2 separate regions of the Homo sapiens genome follow, and region 2 is linked to region 1. Evidence: promoter capture Hi-C in human tissues and cell types (Jung and others, 2019). All regions are on one chromosome and are shown on one strand. The core of a region is centred on a gene start or on the middle of the fragment in contact, and the rest is flanking DNA. Distances in the headings are between cores, read along the strand shown. Region 1 holds the start of NPRL3 (NPR3 like, GATOR1 complex subunit). Region 2 overlaps FAM234A (family with sequence similarity 234 member A).

The links. The method cuts DNA at HindIII sites, captures the fragments that hold promoters and counts their contacts. A contact is called where the count stands out against the background at its distance.
Region 2: a fragment that was not itself captured here is called in contact with the fragment with the promoter of NPRL3 in region 1 in 3 of the 25 tissues and cell types used here (bladder, dorsolateral prefrontal cortex and lymphoblastoid cells).

The regions. Positions count from the first base shown.
Region 1 is chr16:137,054-144,230 of GRCh38, forward strand. NPRL3 (NPR3 like, GATOR1 complex subunit) reads right to left here and starts at 1,620. Exons shown (of 14, transcript NM_001077350.3): 1 at 1,589-1,620; 2 at 1,097-1,281. The coding sequence starts at 1,214. RefSeq lists a silencer at 1,050-1,279, an enhancer at 1,500-1,549 and a cis regulatory region at 5,902-6,420. The HindIII fragment of the contact is 17,392 bases long and covers 1-5,727 here.
Region 2 is chr16:239,866-247,533 of GRCh38, forward strand. The region is part of intron 1 of FAM234A (family with sequence similarity 234 member A); the gene reads left to right. Among named protein-coding and RNA genes, the nearest start is that of FAM234A, 8.9 kb to the left of the region's middle. The HindIII fragment of the contact is 7,678 bases long and covers 689-7,668 here.

The sequences.
Region 1 (7,177 bases), core at 370-2,869:
AAAAAAAAAAAAAAAAAATTGCAGGGTGTGGTGCACATGCCCTGTAGCCCCAGCTACTTGGGAGGCTGAGGCAGGAGAATCCCTTGAGCCCGGGAGGTGGAGGCTGCAGTGAGCCGAGATCACGCCACTCAACTCCAGCCTGGGCGACAGAGTGAGACTCCGTCTCAAAAAATAAATAAAATAAAAACAAAAACTGAACATTCATGATGATGAAAAATCAAAAGTAACCTACATGCCGTCCACAGGGGAAGGCAGCAGCCTGCAGCCAAGGGTGAGGTTGATCCCTGCTTGCAAAGGCAGACGGAGCTCCAAGGCCGACTATGGGAAAAGGGCGCCACAGAACAATTCGTGCGATGAAAAACCTCACGCGACGTTCCCTTTTCCTGTGGATAGATCTGCATCTATGCACAGGGCAGACAACTCCCAACACGGCCAGGGGTGATCCCTGTGCTTGCTAGAACTGGGGGTGGCAAAGACAACTTCAGATGTTCACGTAACTTTTTTTTTTTTTTTTGAGACGGAGTCTTGCTCTGTTGCCCAGGCTGGAATCCAGTGGCGCGATCTCGGTTCACTGAAACCTCCGCCTCCCGGGTTCAAGCAATTCTCCTGCCTCAGCCTCCCAAGTAGCTAGGATTATGGGCACGCACCACCACGCTCGGCTAATTTGTTTTTTTTTATTTTTATTTTTTCAGTAGAGACAGAGTTTCAACCATGTTGGCCAGGCTGGTCTCGAACTCCTGACCTCAGGTGATCCACCCGCCTCGGCCTCCCAAAGTGCTGGGATTACCGCCACCGGCCTTGTTCGTGTAATTTTGTATTTTCTCATGATGAATACATCCCAAACTCATTTTATTTTATTTTACTTTATTTTTTAAAGGCTGGAGACTGATGAAATGTCAGCAGTAGTTGCTTTGGTGTGGTGAACAATGCATGATTTTAATTTTTTTTTTCCTTTTTCTACTTTTCAAATACTCTACAACGAGCAGATCTCGAATGCCCAGCAAAAGCTAAGCTCCGCGAGGCGGCCCTGGAATGAGGCGACCCCGGAATGAGGCGGCCCCCGCGAGCGCCAGGCCCCCGCCCAGCGCTCACTTACTTGTCTGGGACGCCGGGTGCTCCTGGCTTCTCTGGAAGGGGTACCTGAACAGCAGCTTATTGCCCCTGCTCCCCGAGCTCACCAGAATCACGCTGATGGGGCTGGTGTTGTCCCGCATCCCGCCGTGGGGCCGGGGCCGGGGGCGGAGGGGGCCAGAGGAGGACGGAGCCGGAGGCGGAGGGGGCCTGAGGAGGACGGAGCCGGAGGCGGAGGGGGCCTGAGGAGGACGAGGCGGGGACGCAGGGGGCCTGAGGAGGGCAGGGGTGGAGGCGGAGGGGGCCTGAGGAGGGCAGGGGTGGAGGCGGAGGGGGCCTGAGGAGGGCAGGGGTGGAGGCGGAGGGGGCCTGAGGAGGGCAGGGGTGGAGGCGGAGGGGGCCTGAGTAGGGCAGGGGTGGAGGCGGAGGGGGCCTGAGGAGGGCAGGGGTGGAGGCGGAGGGGGCCTGAGGAGGACAGGGGTGGTGGTGGACGCGGAGCAGCGCCACAGTTACCAACCCACGTGCCACGCTCCGGGCTCGCGAGACTTCGGCGACACCGTCCGGAGGAGGTGCTAAGGCGGCGGCCGGGAGAACGGCGCAGGCGCAGGCGCAGGCGCAGGCAGCGGAATGCGCAGGCGCGGGGCCTTCTGGAAGCCACCGAGTTCCGCGGTGCTGTCTGGAGCCGTACGGTTCGCGTTTGGGGCACAGGGGCCCCTCTTGCTGGTGCGGATGGGAAAGGCGCGGGGTCGAGTCAGCGTCCCTCTCGATGTTGGTTTCTTCGTTTTACAAATAACACTTGGGCGGGGCGCGGTGGCTCACGCCTGTAATCCCAGCATTTTGGGAGGCCGAGGCGGGCGGATCACGAGGTCAGGAGATCGAGACCATCCTAGCTAACATAGTGAAACCCCATCTCTACTAAAAATTAGAAGAAATTATCCGGGCGTGGTGGCAGGCGCCCGTAATCCTAGAGGAGAATCGCTTGAACCCGGGAGGCGGAGGTTGCATTGAGCCAAGATCACGCCATTGCACTCCACCCTGGGCGACAGAGCGACGAGACCCCGTATCAAAAAAAAAAAAAAGAAAGAAAGAAAGAAAAAAGAAAAAAAAAAGGCCGGGCGCGGTGGCTCACGCCTGTAATCCCAGCACTTTGGGAGGCCGAGGCGGGTGAATCACGAGGTCAGGAGTTCGAGACCATCCTGGCCAACATGGTGAAACCCCGTCTCTACAAAAAAAAAAAAAAAAATTAGCCGGGCGTGGTGGCGGGCGCCTGTAATCCCAGCTACTCGGGAGGCTGAGACAGGAAAATCGCTTGAACCCGGGAGGCGGAGCTTGCGGTGAGCCGAGATTGCGCCACTGCACTACAGCCTAGGCGACAGAGCGAGACTCCGTCTCAAAAAAAAAAAAAAAAAAAAAAAACACTTGGAAGCCGACAGGAGATCTTTGAGACCTTGGGCGAGGCAGTGACACTAAAGGCAGGAGCGACTACAGAAGAATAAATTAAACTTCATCAGATTAAAAACTTTACTGCGGCCGGGCGCGGTGGCTCACGCCTGAAATCCCAGCACTTTGGGAGGCCGAGGTGGGCAGATCATGAGATCAGGAGATCTAGACCATCCTGGCCAACATGGTAAAACCCCGTCTCTCTACTAAAAATACAAAAATTAGCTGGGTTTGGCGGCGCCTGCTTCTAATCCCAGCTACTCGGGAGGCTGAGGCAGGAGAATCGCTTGAAGCCGGGAGGCGGAGGTTGCAGTGAGCCGAGATCGTGCCACTGAACTCTGGCCTGGCGACAGAGCGAGACTCCATCTCAAAACAAAACAAAAACTTCGGTGCTTTAAAGGACACCATCAAGAAAATTAAAAGTCCACCCACAGAACGGGAGAAAATATTTGTAAGTTACATATCTGATAAGGGAATTGTATCTAGAATGGAGGAAACTTACAACTCAACAATAAAAAGACAATTGAAAAATGCACAAAGGATATGAATATTTTTCCAGTGCATTATGCAAATGGCCAATAAGCACCAGAAGATGCTCAGCTCAACTGGTAGAGGCTTACGCCTGTGACCCCAGCGCTGAGAGGCCAGGAACTCCAGACCAGCCTGGGCAAAACAGAAATTAAAAATGCTCAACATTATTAGGCATTAGGGAGATGCAAATCAAAACTACAAATAGATGCCACATCACACCTCCTACGATGGCTGTAATCAAAAAGACAAGCGTCAGCAGGGGTGTGGAGAAACGGGAATCTCTCTCCTGCTGGTGGGAATGTAAGAGGCTACACTCGCTATGGAAAACAGGCTGGCAGTTCCTGAAAGGTTAGAGTTAACACAACACTCGGCAAATCCCCCTTTTAGATATATAGCCAAGAGAAATGAAAGCATATGTCCACACAAAAACATGTGTGTTCTTAGTAATATTATTCATAATAGCCCAAAGTGGAAGCAATCCTAGGGTATATCAATTGATGAATGGGTGAATATGGTATAGTTTGTTTAAGGGAATACTATTCAGCCATAAAAAGGAATGAAGTACGGCACATGAATCCATCTTGAAGACACACTAATATATGATTCCATTTATATAAGATGCCCAGAATAGGCAAATCCATAGAGACAGAATGATTAGTGGCTGCCTAGGGCTTCCAGGGGGTCAGGGGAAATATGGAGCGATTCATGGGTTTTTTGAAGGGGAGTGATGAAAATGTTCTAACGTTGACTGTGGTAATGGTTGGACAGCTCTGAGAACGCGAATACACTAAAAGACATGGAAGTGCCGGGCGCAGTGGCTCATGCCTGTAATCCCAGCGCTTTGGGAGGCCAAGGCAGGCGGATCGCGAGGTCAGGAGATCGAGACCATCCTGGCTAAGACAGTGAAACCCCGTGTCTACTAAAAATACAAAAAATTAGCTGGACATGGTGCGGGCGCCTGTAGTCCCAGATACTCAGGAGGCTGAGGCAGGAGAATGGTGTGAACCCGGGAGGCGGAGCTTGCAGTGAGCCAAGATCGCACCATTGCACTCCAGCCTGGGCGACAGAGCGAGACTCCATCTCAAAAACAAAAAAAAGATATGGAAGTGTACACTTGAAGTGGATAAGCTTTATGGTATGCAAATTGGTATGGTATGGTAAATTATATCTCAATGAAGTTGTTTTTTAAAAAATCACCCCACCTACCCTATCCCAGGCTTCCCCAGGAGGTAACTAAAGGTAATGAGCTTCTTTGGCTGCTTCCAGAACTTTCCCAAGCACATCAAATGCATCAGAACCTAACCACTTGACTGAGGGATGAGCATTTTCACTGTTGCAAGTAACCCTCTTGCACCAACACTGACACTAATGTGTATTTTGCAGAACAAATTTGTGGATTGGCCTCACCAGGGTGAAGGGTACGTGCATTTGAAATGGCTCAACAGTACCAACAGGTGCGTTTTCTTGCACAGGGCTGCATAACATTTTTTTTTTTTTTTTGAGACAGAGTCTCGCTCTATCACCCAGGCTGGAGGGCAGTGGCACAATCTCAGTTCACTGCAAGCTCCACCTACCAGGTTCACATCATTCTCCTGCCTCAGCCTCCCAAGTAGCTGGGACTACAGGTGCCCGCCACCACACCAGGCTAATTTTTTTTTTTTTTTTGAGATGGAGTCTTGCTCTGTCGCCCAGGCTGGAGTGCAGTGGCACGATCTCAGCTCACTGCAAGCTCCACCTCCCAGGTTCACACCATTCTCCTGCCTCAGCCTCCCCAGTAGCTGAGACTACAGGCGCCCGCCACCACGTCCGGCTAATTTTTTTGTATTTTTAGTAGAGACGGGGTTTCACCGCGTTAGCCAGGATGGTCTCGATCTCCTGACCTCTTGATCCACCCGCCTCGGCCTCTCAAAGTGCTGGGATTACAGGCGTGAGCCACCGTGCCCGGCCTGCATAACATTTTTTTTTTTCCTGAAATTCCCAGAAAGGAAAATGGTGTCTTGTTCTATGTTGCATTTCTTTGATTGAGAGGGAGAGCTGCATCACTTAATTATTTGCAGAGAATTGCTTTTCTTGTTTTCTTTACAGGTGGTCTGTTCTTGGATGGTCTGGCTGTGTTCTTTCTGAGGAATACATAACCTCTGCTACACATTTTGCAAGGCTTTATCCCCGTTGTCCATGTTTTGATTTTATGTATAATCAAAAGGTTTGTGAGTTCTCCCGCACTTCCCAGGAGTGCCTCTGGGATGGAAATGAGACTGCAGGAGCAGGGCTTGAGGCTGGAGGGGTGAGATGGGACAGATGGGGGTGGGGGAACCCAGGGCAGTGGCCGGTGGTGGTAATGGAGGCCTCCTCACAGGGACCCTCACAGCGACCATGCGAATGGAGCAGGACTGTGACTCAGGTCTCGCTCTTCTGACCTAATCGTGCTGCTGCCCCAATGGGCAGAACCTTGGGGCTCCAGACTGGACATCTCTGGGCTCAAAGGATCCCACTGTTCCCCCGGTTACCCTCTCAGGGTTGGCCTCCTGCCAGTAACCCTGGCACTCATTGTTCATTCTTCTGACTATCGTCAGTCATAATGAGAGCTCGAACTGGTGAAAGTGCAGGGAGCTCACCATGACCCCAGCCCACAGAGGTCCTGGGTGCGTCCCTGCCCTCGAAGCAGCACTCTGGATCCCAGCGCCACCCTCATGTCCATGTTTGCACCTCATTGGCTGTGACAGAAATGAGACATCATTGTCACACGCTGGCCTGAGGGTCAGTGGGCCTTGCTTTGGACCTCAGTTTCCCCACCAGTAACAGGGTTCAGAGCAGATGGTCCCTGAGTGAGTCCCAGCTCTAAGTTCTCCCAGGGTCTCCTGGACAATGAAGCACCAGGGCCAACCTCCATTTGCTACAGGGGACATCCTCAGGCTCTTCTCTGCTAAGACCCCACACCTCCAAGTCTCCTCATTTTACCTTTAAATAGCTGTTTCATGACCTGCTTTTTTGACGGTAAGTAGATTTTTGGAAACTGAAACCCCTGACCCTTCCTCCCAGCCTGGGCCTGCCCTTGGCAGGATAGGAGGCCTTATCGGTCCTGCCACTTGGTCTGGGCCTCAAAGGGCCACCGCCATCTGCAGGAGGGCCGGGTGGGGTTCACAGACGCTATCTGGGACTTGCCTGGACACCTCCACCTTCTCAGCTGAGTGTTGCTGCCCCACCAGGGAGAACCACTCACACACAGTAGTAATAGAAATAATTTAAAATTCATGCTGCAAGTTCCTGAGCGCCCTCCCAACACTGAGGTGGGGGCTAGTCTAATCCCCATCCTAGAGGTGAAAACAGTGAAACTAGGACTCACAAGGCAAATTAGCCTGTTCAGGGTCACCGAGGGTCCACTCTCATGGGAGAGTTTGCAGATGCCCAATCCGGCATTCTGCTGAGTGTCCAGTGGCTTGTAAGTGGCCAGACACCCTTTGAGCTCAGCCTCAGCTGCTCAGGCACAGAACGTGCCTGGAGCTTGGAATTCAGGCCAGAAACCACCAGTGGACACCAGCATTCCACACTCACTGCACAGGCTGGGGCTCAAACCAAGGCCCAGGGACAGGAAGGGACAAGCCCCAGCCCCAGCCGGACTCCCAGCCCACACAAACCATCAGGGCTTGTTTCCTGCTCCATGGAAGCCTCAGACATGTTTCATAACCTCCTGGAGCCTCCGTTTCCTTATCTTTCCAATGTAATGATGCCCATGTGCAGTGGCTCACGCCTGTAATCCCAAGCACTTTAGGAGGCCGAGGTGGGTGGATCACTGGAGCTCAGGAGTTTGAGGCCAGCCTGGGCAACATGGCAAAACGCCATCTCTACTAAAAACACAAATATTACCCAGGCATAGTGGCACATGCCTATAGTCCCAGCTACTCAGGAGGCTGAGGTGGGAGGATCACCTGAGCTTGGGAAGTTGAGCCTGCAGTGAGCCAAGATTGTCACACTGCACTCTAGCCTGGAGGACAGAGTAAGAAGACCCTGTAACAAAACAAAACATAACAAAACAAACAAACAAAAAACCCAACTAATGACAATAAAATAAACCCTCCCTCACAGGGTGGTTGTGAGGATAAAGCACCCAGAATGAAGAGTGTTGCTGCCATGTGCA
Region 2 (7,668 bases), core at 3,278-5,777, 110 kb after region 1:
TGCATGTGCTGTGATACTTTTGCCTTTGTCATGGAACCATGATCTTTAAAGTGGTTCTGGAAAAATGGTTATGGGCCTGTTCTTTGTCTTGAGATTATTCTTGGTGGAGAGAGAAATAGCTGCTTGCTGTAAACAACTGGACACAGTAGCTGTCCTTGTCTGACATCTGCTTTGCTCAGCTGAAACATCTGCCTCATTGGCTGTTGTGGGTGTCTCTGAAGCTCATGTTGAATTGCTGTCAAATGCCCAGCGTGTTCTTGGTGGTGACACAGCCACATTGTGTAAATACATTTCTTAAGTCATTTGTGTGTATAGCAGCTGGATTTGGGGACAAGCATTTGGGCACACTCGCTACAAGATTGGTTAGTGATTATGGATGATGAAGTCTGTCGGAAAATTCAGATCTTGATTGTGAGTTATCTTACTTGTCTTTTAAGTTCTCTTTCATCCATTTGGCTCAGGGGACACAGCAGACATCTTCCTGGCCTTAAATAGCTTTCTTTCTGCCAGGTAAGAGAAGTATGATGAGTGCTTTGAAAGAAAAATACTGAGTTCTCTGGGGTGGAGTGTGGTTAACCAGGGTCAGTGGGGGTCACCCCAAACTTATTTAAGGCTTGAGCCGCTGCATCTGGGTGTATTTTTTTTTTTTTTTTTGAGACAGAGTCTTGCTCTTGTTGCCAAGGCTGGAGTACAATGGTGCGATCTCAGCTCACTGCAACCTCTGCCTCCTTGGTTAAAGCGATACTCCTGCCTCAGCCTCCCTAGTAGCTGGGACTACAGGCGCGTGCCACCACGCCGGCTAATTTTTGTACTTTTAGTAGAGATGGGGTTTCACAATGTTGGCCAGGTTGGTCTCGCACTCCTGACCTCAAGTGATCCAGCCGCCTAGGCCTCCTAAAGTGCTGAGATTACAGTTGTGAGCTACCACACCCAGCTGGGCTTATTATTTTTAATCCATTGACAAAATCTTTTCAGTTTCTGTTTCTAACTGGTGAAACTAGATAGTAACATTAATCTATAATCATAGTTTTCCTCTAAATATTAACTAAATATTTTATCCATTTAAAACACTGTTTTCTTCTCTTTTTTTTGAGACAGGGTCTTGCCCTGTTGCCTAGACTGGAATGCAGTGGTGTGATCTCCGCTCACCTCCCAGGCTCAAGGGAACCTCAGTCTCTCGCACAGCTGGGACTAGAGGCACATACCACCATACCCGGCTAGTTTTTGTATTTTTTTGTGGAGGTAGGGTTTTGTCATGTTGCCCAGGCTGGTCTCGAACTCCTGCGCTCGAGTGATCTTCCTGCCTCCTGCTGTAGCCTCCCGAAGTTGCTGGGATTACAAATGTATGCTACTGTGCCTAGCCTTAAAACACTTATCTTGACCGCAGAGGAGGTCTACACAAAAAGAAAGAAAAAAAAAAAGCTGTCTGCTTCAGGCTGGGCACGGTGGTTCACACCTGTCATTCTAGCACTTCGGGAGGCAGAGGTGGGAGGATCACATGAACCCAGGAGTTACAGAGGAGCCTGGGCAACATAGTGAGGCTCTCATTTCTACAAAAAATTTAAAGATTAGCTGAACAAAAATTAGCTGGTGCATGCCTGTGCTCCCAGCTACTGGGGAGCCTGAGGCGGGAGGATCTCTTGAGCCCGGGGATTCAAGGCTGCAGTGAGCCATGATTGCACCACTTCATTCCAGCCTGGGCAACAGAGCAAGACCCTGTGTCAAAAAAAAAAAAGTTTTCATCAAATTTCTGCAATTAAAAAAATTAGAGGCCGGGCGCGGTGGCTCAGGCCTGTAATCCCAGCACTTTGGGAGGCCGAGGCGGGCGGATCACGAGGTCAGCAGATCGAGACCATCCTGGCTAACACAGTGAAACCCCATCTCTACTAAAAATACAAAAAATTAGCCGGGCTTGGTGGCGGGCACCTGTAGTCCCAGCTACTGGGGAGGCTGAGGCTTGAAACCAGGAGGCGGAGGTTGCAGTGAGCCAAGATTGCACCACTGCACTCCAGCCTGGGCGACAGAGCGAGACAACGTCTCAAAAAAAAAAAAAAAAAAGGCAATTAGAATGAGACTTTTGTTTTTATTTTCTGTTCTCTGTGACTCAGTAAACTTCTTAGAGAAAGAACTCTTGGAGAAAAGGGAGAGACCTGTCACTTCCTTTCTGCATGGACTGTGGTATTCCTGCCCCACCCCTGCCGAAATGTTAATGAGCTGTGCAAACTACTGCTGGATTGTTTTGTTCTTCCCCCTAATCAGAGTTTCCACTCAGGACTGGGTAGCCTGTGGACTCCCTGGAGGACAGATAGGTGTGGCAGCCTCAGTGGCCTAGAGTGGACAGCTGGTTTACCGATAGTCCTTTTTTTTGAGACAGAGTCTTGGTCTATCACCCGGGCTGGAGTGCAGTAGTACGATCTTGGCTCACCACATCCCCTACCTCCCAGGCTGAAGTGATTCTCGTGCTTCAGCCTTCCCAGTAGCTGAGACTATAGGCAGACACCAACATACCCACCTAATTTTGTATTTTTAGTAGAGTCGGGGTTTCACCATGTTGGCCAGCCTGGTCTTGAACTCCTGTCCTCCAGTGATCTGTCCACCTCGGCCTCCCAAAATGCTGGGTTTATAGGCACGAGTCACCGCGGGCTTACTGATAGTTCTGTAGGCCAGGGGAATAATCCGTTTGAATAACCATATATGAGGTATTGTGTTTATCTTTCTTTCTTCAAGTTATTCTTGGTGTCAGCTCCTTTTTTTTTTTTTTTTCTGAGACAGAGTCTCGCTCTGTCGTCCAGGCTGGAGTGCAATGGCGCTATCTCAGCTCACTGCAACCTCTGCCCCCCGGGTTCAAGCGATTCTCCTGCCTCAGCCTCCTGAGTAGCTGGGATTACTGATGCACATCACCACGCCTGGTTAATTTTTTGTATTTTTAGTAGAGATGGAGTTTCACCATGTTGGCCAAATTGGTCTCGAACTCCTGACCTTGCGATCCACCCACCTCAGCCTCCCAAAGTGCTGGGATTACAGGCGTGAGCTACCACGCCCATCCCGTGTCAGGTCTTTTACCTTAATTAATACGTATTGTATTGACAAATTTTCTTTTCTTTCTGAGCCCTCACTTTTTTTTTTTTTTTTGAAACAAGGTCTCACTCTGTTGCCCAAACTGGAATGTAGTGATAATGATCACAGCTCACTGCAGCCTCAACCTCTTGGGCTCAAGCTAACCTCCCACCTCAGCCTCCCAGGTAGCTGGGACTACAAGCACATGCCACTACACCTAATTTTATTTTACTTTTTGTAGAGATGGGGTCTCCCCATGTTGCCCAGACTGGTCTCGAACACCTGGCCTCAAGTCATCCTCCTGCCTCAGCCTCCCAAAGCACTAGGATTATAGGCGTGAACCACCCTGCCCGGCCATGAAGTTAAATTTTTGGTTATTAGCTTGTTGAGTTCTGTTTTCTGTTTTTTTAAATAGCCACATGGCCTGACTCTCTGTGGTCAATGGTATGGATGCTAAAGTAGAGCAAGGACAGTGCCCTGCTCAAGTCTCTCTGACCTGGGTCCATGGGGATTTTCTCTGCCAGTCAGGTTCCTGAAGCTCTGGCTACGGCTCCTGGTATTTTTAATGACCGCAGTAGAGAAAAACATTGGTATCTTCTTGCTGTTGATGAGCAAATCTTTGGACCTGTCTCATGGTGTCTTTATTTGCAAACTGGTTGAATCATGAACTGCCTGGCTTTGGCTGCCTTGCCGTTGTGGCTTTTAATAACTACCCCTATTTCTGGTGGCTCAGTCAAGTTTCCAAAAAGGAAGTCTTACCTGGAGATCCTGTGAAGGAATTCCTGACCAGCTTTTTAATTTTCCAAAGACAGGCCTTATTCGTGTTAAACACACACCCCTTTTCTGTGGCCAGGCCGGTGTGAAAGCATGTGCAGAGGCTGTATAGCAGTAAGAGTTCCCACCCCTTGGGGCATTTTCATTGTCACCACATTGTCTGACTTTGGAGACGACCCCTTTTAAACTCTGGCATTTGCTCAGGTAAGTATTTGGGGAGTATTGTTATAAATGCTGTGCATATCCGTTTTTTCCCCACAGTGGAAAGGAAAATGATTTTTTTTTTTTTTGAGTCGGAGTCTTGCTCTGTCACCCAGGCTGGAGTGCAGTGGTGCCATCTCGGCTCACTGCAACCTCCGCCTCCCAGGTTCACACCATTCTCCTGCCTCAGCCTCCTGAGTAGCTGGGACTACAGGCACCCGCCACCACGCCCGGCTAATTTTTTCTATCTTTAGTAGAGATGGGGTTTCACCGTGTTAGCTAGGATGGTCTCGATCTCCTGACCTTGTGATCCACCCGCCTTGGCCTCCCAAAGTGCTGGGATTACAGGCGTGAGCCACCGCGCCCGGTCGGAAAATGATTTTAATGGATGGTTTTGAGGAAGCTGGTGATTATTTTGTAATGGAGAATTGTAACATGCCAGGGGTTTGGCTCTTCTTTCAGTATTTCTTCAGGCTACCACAAAACTCCACTATTGATATTCTTCCAAAAATAAACAAAACACTAAAAGGACTCCTGCCTTTGGAACAAAATAGCTTCATATTAAGGTAGCTTTGAGGCACAAACCAAGCTGCCTGTGGAGAAGCTGGTTCTTCCTCTAAAACTTACATGAACCTCTGACCCCACTCCCCCTTACTAACGGTTTTCTTTTCTCTTTTGATTTTCTATTTTATACTTTTTATTTTGGACTACTTATAGATTCACAAAATGTTGTAAAAATAGCACAGGGCTGGACCCTGAAGTCTGCTTCCCTGAATGGTAACCTCTTTTTTTTTTTTTTTTTTTTTTTGAGACGGAATTTTGCTTTTGTTGCCCAGGCTGGAGTGGAATGGCACGATCTTGGCCACTGCACCCTCTGCCTCCCAGGTTCAAGTGATTCTCCTGCCTCAGCCTCCCGAGTAGCTGGGATTACAGGCATGCACCACCACGCCCGGCTAATTTTTTTTTGTATTTTTAGTAGAGATGGGGTTTCTCCATGTTGGTCAGGCTGGTCTCAAACTCCCGACCTCAGGTGATCTGCCCGCCTCAGCCTCCCAACGTGCTGGGATTACAGGCATGAGCCATCGCGCTCGACCAATAACTACCATTTCAAATTCCCACGACTATTGTACTGCAGACCTGTTATCGTATATTCTCACCAACACATTTTAAAATGCTTAACTTTTAGGCTGGGCGTGGCCCACACTTTGGGAGGCTGAGGCAGGCAGATCACTTGGGCCCTGGAGTTTGAGACCAGCCTGGGCAACGTGGCGAAACTCTGTCTCTACAAAAAATACAAAAATTTGCCCGGCGCGGTGATGCACACCTGTGGTCCCAGCTACTTTATAGGCTGAGGTGGGAGAATCTCTCGAACCCAGCAGGAGGAGGTTGCAGTGAGCCTAGATCACCACTGCCCTCCAGCCTGGGCCACAGAGTGAGACCCTGTCTCAAGATCAGATAAAATGAAATGCTTAACTTTTGTTAATGTCATTGGTCCTGCTGTGTCTATGAGTGAGACTGAGTGTGTTTCCCCTGGGCACCGGCCACTGGCGTGTGCTCTTCAGTGAACTGCCCAGTTATGAATTCGTTTCCTGTTTCCCCACTGGGGTCCTTGCCTTTCTTTTGTGGGTTTGTGAAAACCCTAAGAATATTTATCCTGGTTTGTTTTGTGGAGCTAACAACAATCTTTTGGCTTCCCTGGGCCACGTTGGAAGAATTGTCTTGGGCCACACATAAAGTACACTAACACTAATGATAGCTGATGAGCTGAAAAAAAAAAATTGCAAAAAAATCTGTGAATGTTTTAAGAAAGTTTCTGAATTTATGTTAGGCCACACTTCAAGCCATCCTGGGCCGAGGGTTGGACAAGCTTGGGTTAGACATTTCATAATATATTTAGTTCATCAGTGTTTTTCTTAATGATTTCCACCTTTGGGGTCATGCGTTCAAGACTTTCCCTAACAATACATAAACATTCTCTTCTATTTTCTTTTAGTTTAATGTTTGTTAAAAATAATGTTTACATTTTTGGCCAGGCGCAGTGGCTCACGCCTGTAATCCCAGCACTTTGAGAGGCTTAGGTGGGCAGATCACGAGGTCAGCAGTTCTAGACCAGCCTGATCATCATGGTGAAACCGTCTCTACTAAAAATACAAAAATTAGCTGGGTGCGGTGGTGGGTGTGGTGGTGGGTGCCTATAGTCCCAGCCACTCAGGAGGCTGAGGCAGGAGAATCGCTTGAACCCAGGAGGCAGAGGTTGCAGTGAGCCAAGATCACGCCATTGTACTCCCGCCTAGGTGACAGAGCAAGATTCTGTCTCAAAAAAATAATAATAATAATAATAATGTTTACATTTTTAATTCATTTGGAGTTTATCTTGATTGGTGGATTTTTTTTTTTTTTTGTGACGAGGTCTCACTCTCACCCAGGCTGGAGCACAGTGGTGCAGTCTCGGCTCACCGCAACCTCTGCCTCCTGGGTTCAAGCAGTTCTCCTGCCTCAGCCTCCTGAGTAGGTGGTGGCTTTTTTTTTTTTTTTTTTTTTTGAGATAGTCTTGCTCTGTCGCCCAGGCTGGAGTGCAGTGGTGCGATCTTGGCTCACTGCAAGCTCTGCCTCCCGGGTTCACGCCATTCTCCTGCCTCAGCCTCCCGAGTAGCTGGGACTAAAGGTGCCCGCCACCACACCCGGCTAATTTTTTGTATTTTTAGTAGAGATGGGGTTTCACCGTGTTAGCCAGGATGGTCTCAATCTCCTGACCTTGTGATCCGCCCGCTTTGGCCTCCTAAAGTGCTGGTATTACAGGCGTGAGCCACCATGCCCAGCCAGCTGGTGTTTTTTTTTTTTCGATCGATTGGTGTTTTGTTTTGTTTTGTTTTGTTTTTGTTTTTTTCTTTTTTTGAGATGGGGGTCTTGCTCTGTTGCCCAGGCTGGAGTGCAGTGGCACGATCTTGGCTCACTGCAACCTCTGCCTCCCAGGCTCAAGTGATTCTCCTGCCTCAGCCTCCTGAGTAGTTGGGATTATAGGCGCATGCCACCATACTCATCTAATTTTTTTATTTTAGCAGAGGTGGGGTTTCACCATGTTGTTCAGGCTGGTCTCGAACTCCTGACTTCGTGATCTGCCTGCCTCGGCCTCCGAAAGTGCTGGGATTACAGGCGCAAACCACCACGCCCGGTCAGTTGGTGGTTTTTTAATTGATTGATTGTTGGTTTTGTTGTTTTATCGATGTTTTGTTCTGTTTTGTTTTGTTTTGAGACAGAGCTTTACTCTGTGTCACCAGGCTGGAGGGCAGTGGCGTGATCACCACTCATTGCAGCCTCCACTTCCTGGCTTCAAGTGACCCTCCCACCTCAGCTCCTGGGTAGCTAAGACCACAGGCGTGTGCCACCACACCGGGCTGATTTTTTTTTTCTTTCTTTTTAGAAACGGTCTCACCGTGTTGCCCAGGCTGGTCTTGAACTGAACTCAAGCTTTCCATGCGCCTCGGCCTGGCAAAGTGCTGGGATTATAGACATGAGACAACACTCCCAGCCTTATTAATGATTTTTTTTTTTTAAGAGAAGTCTTGCTGTTGTCCCTCAGGCTTGAGTGCGATGGCTCAATCTCGGCTGACTGCAACCTCTGCCTCCCAGGTTCAA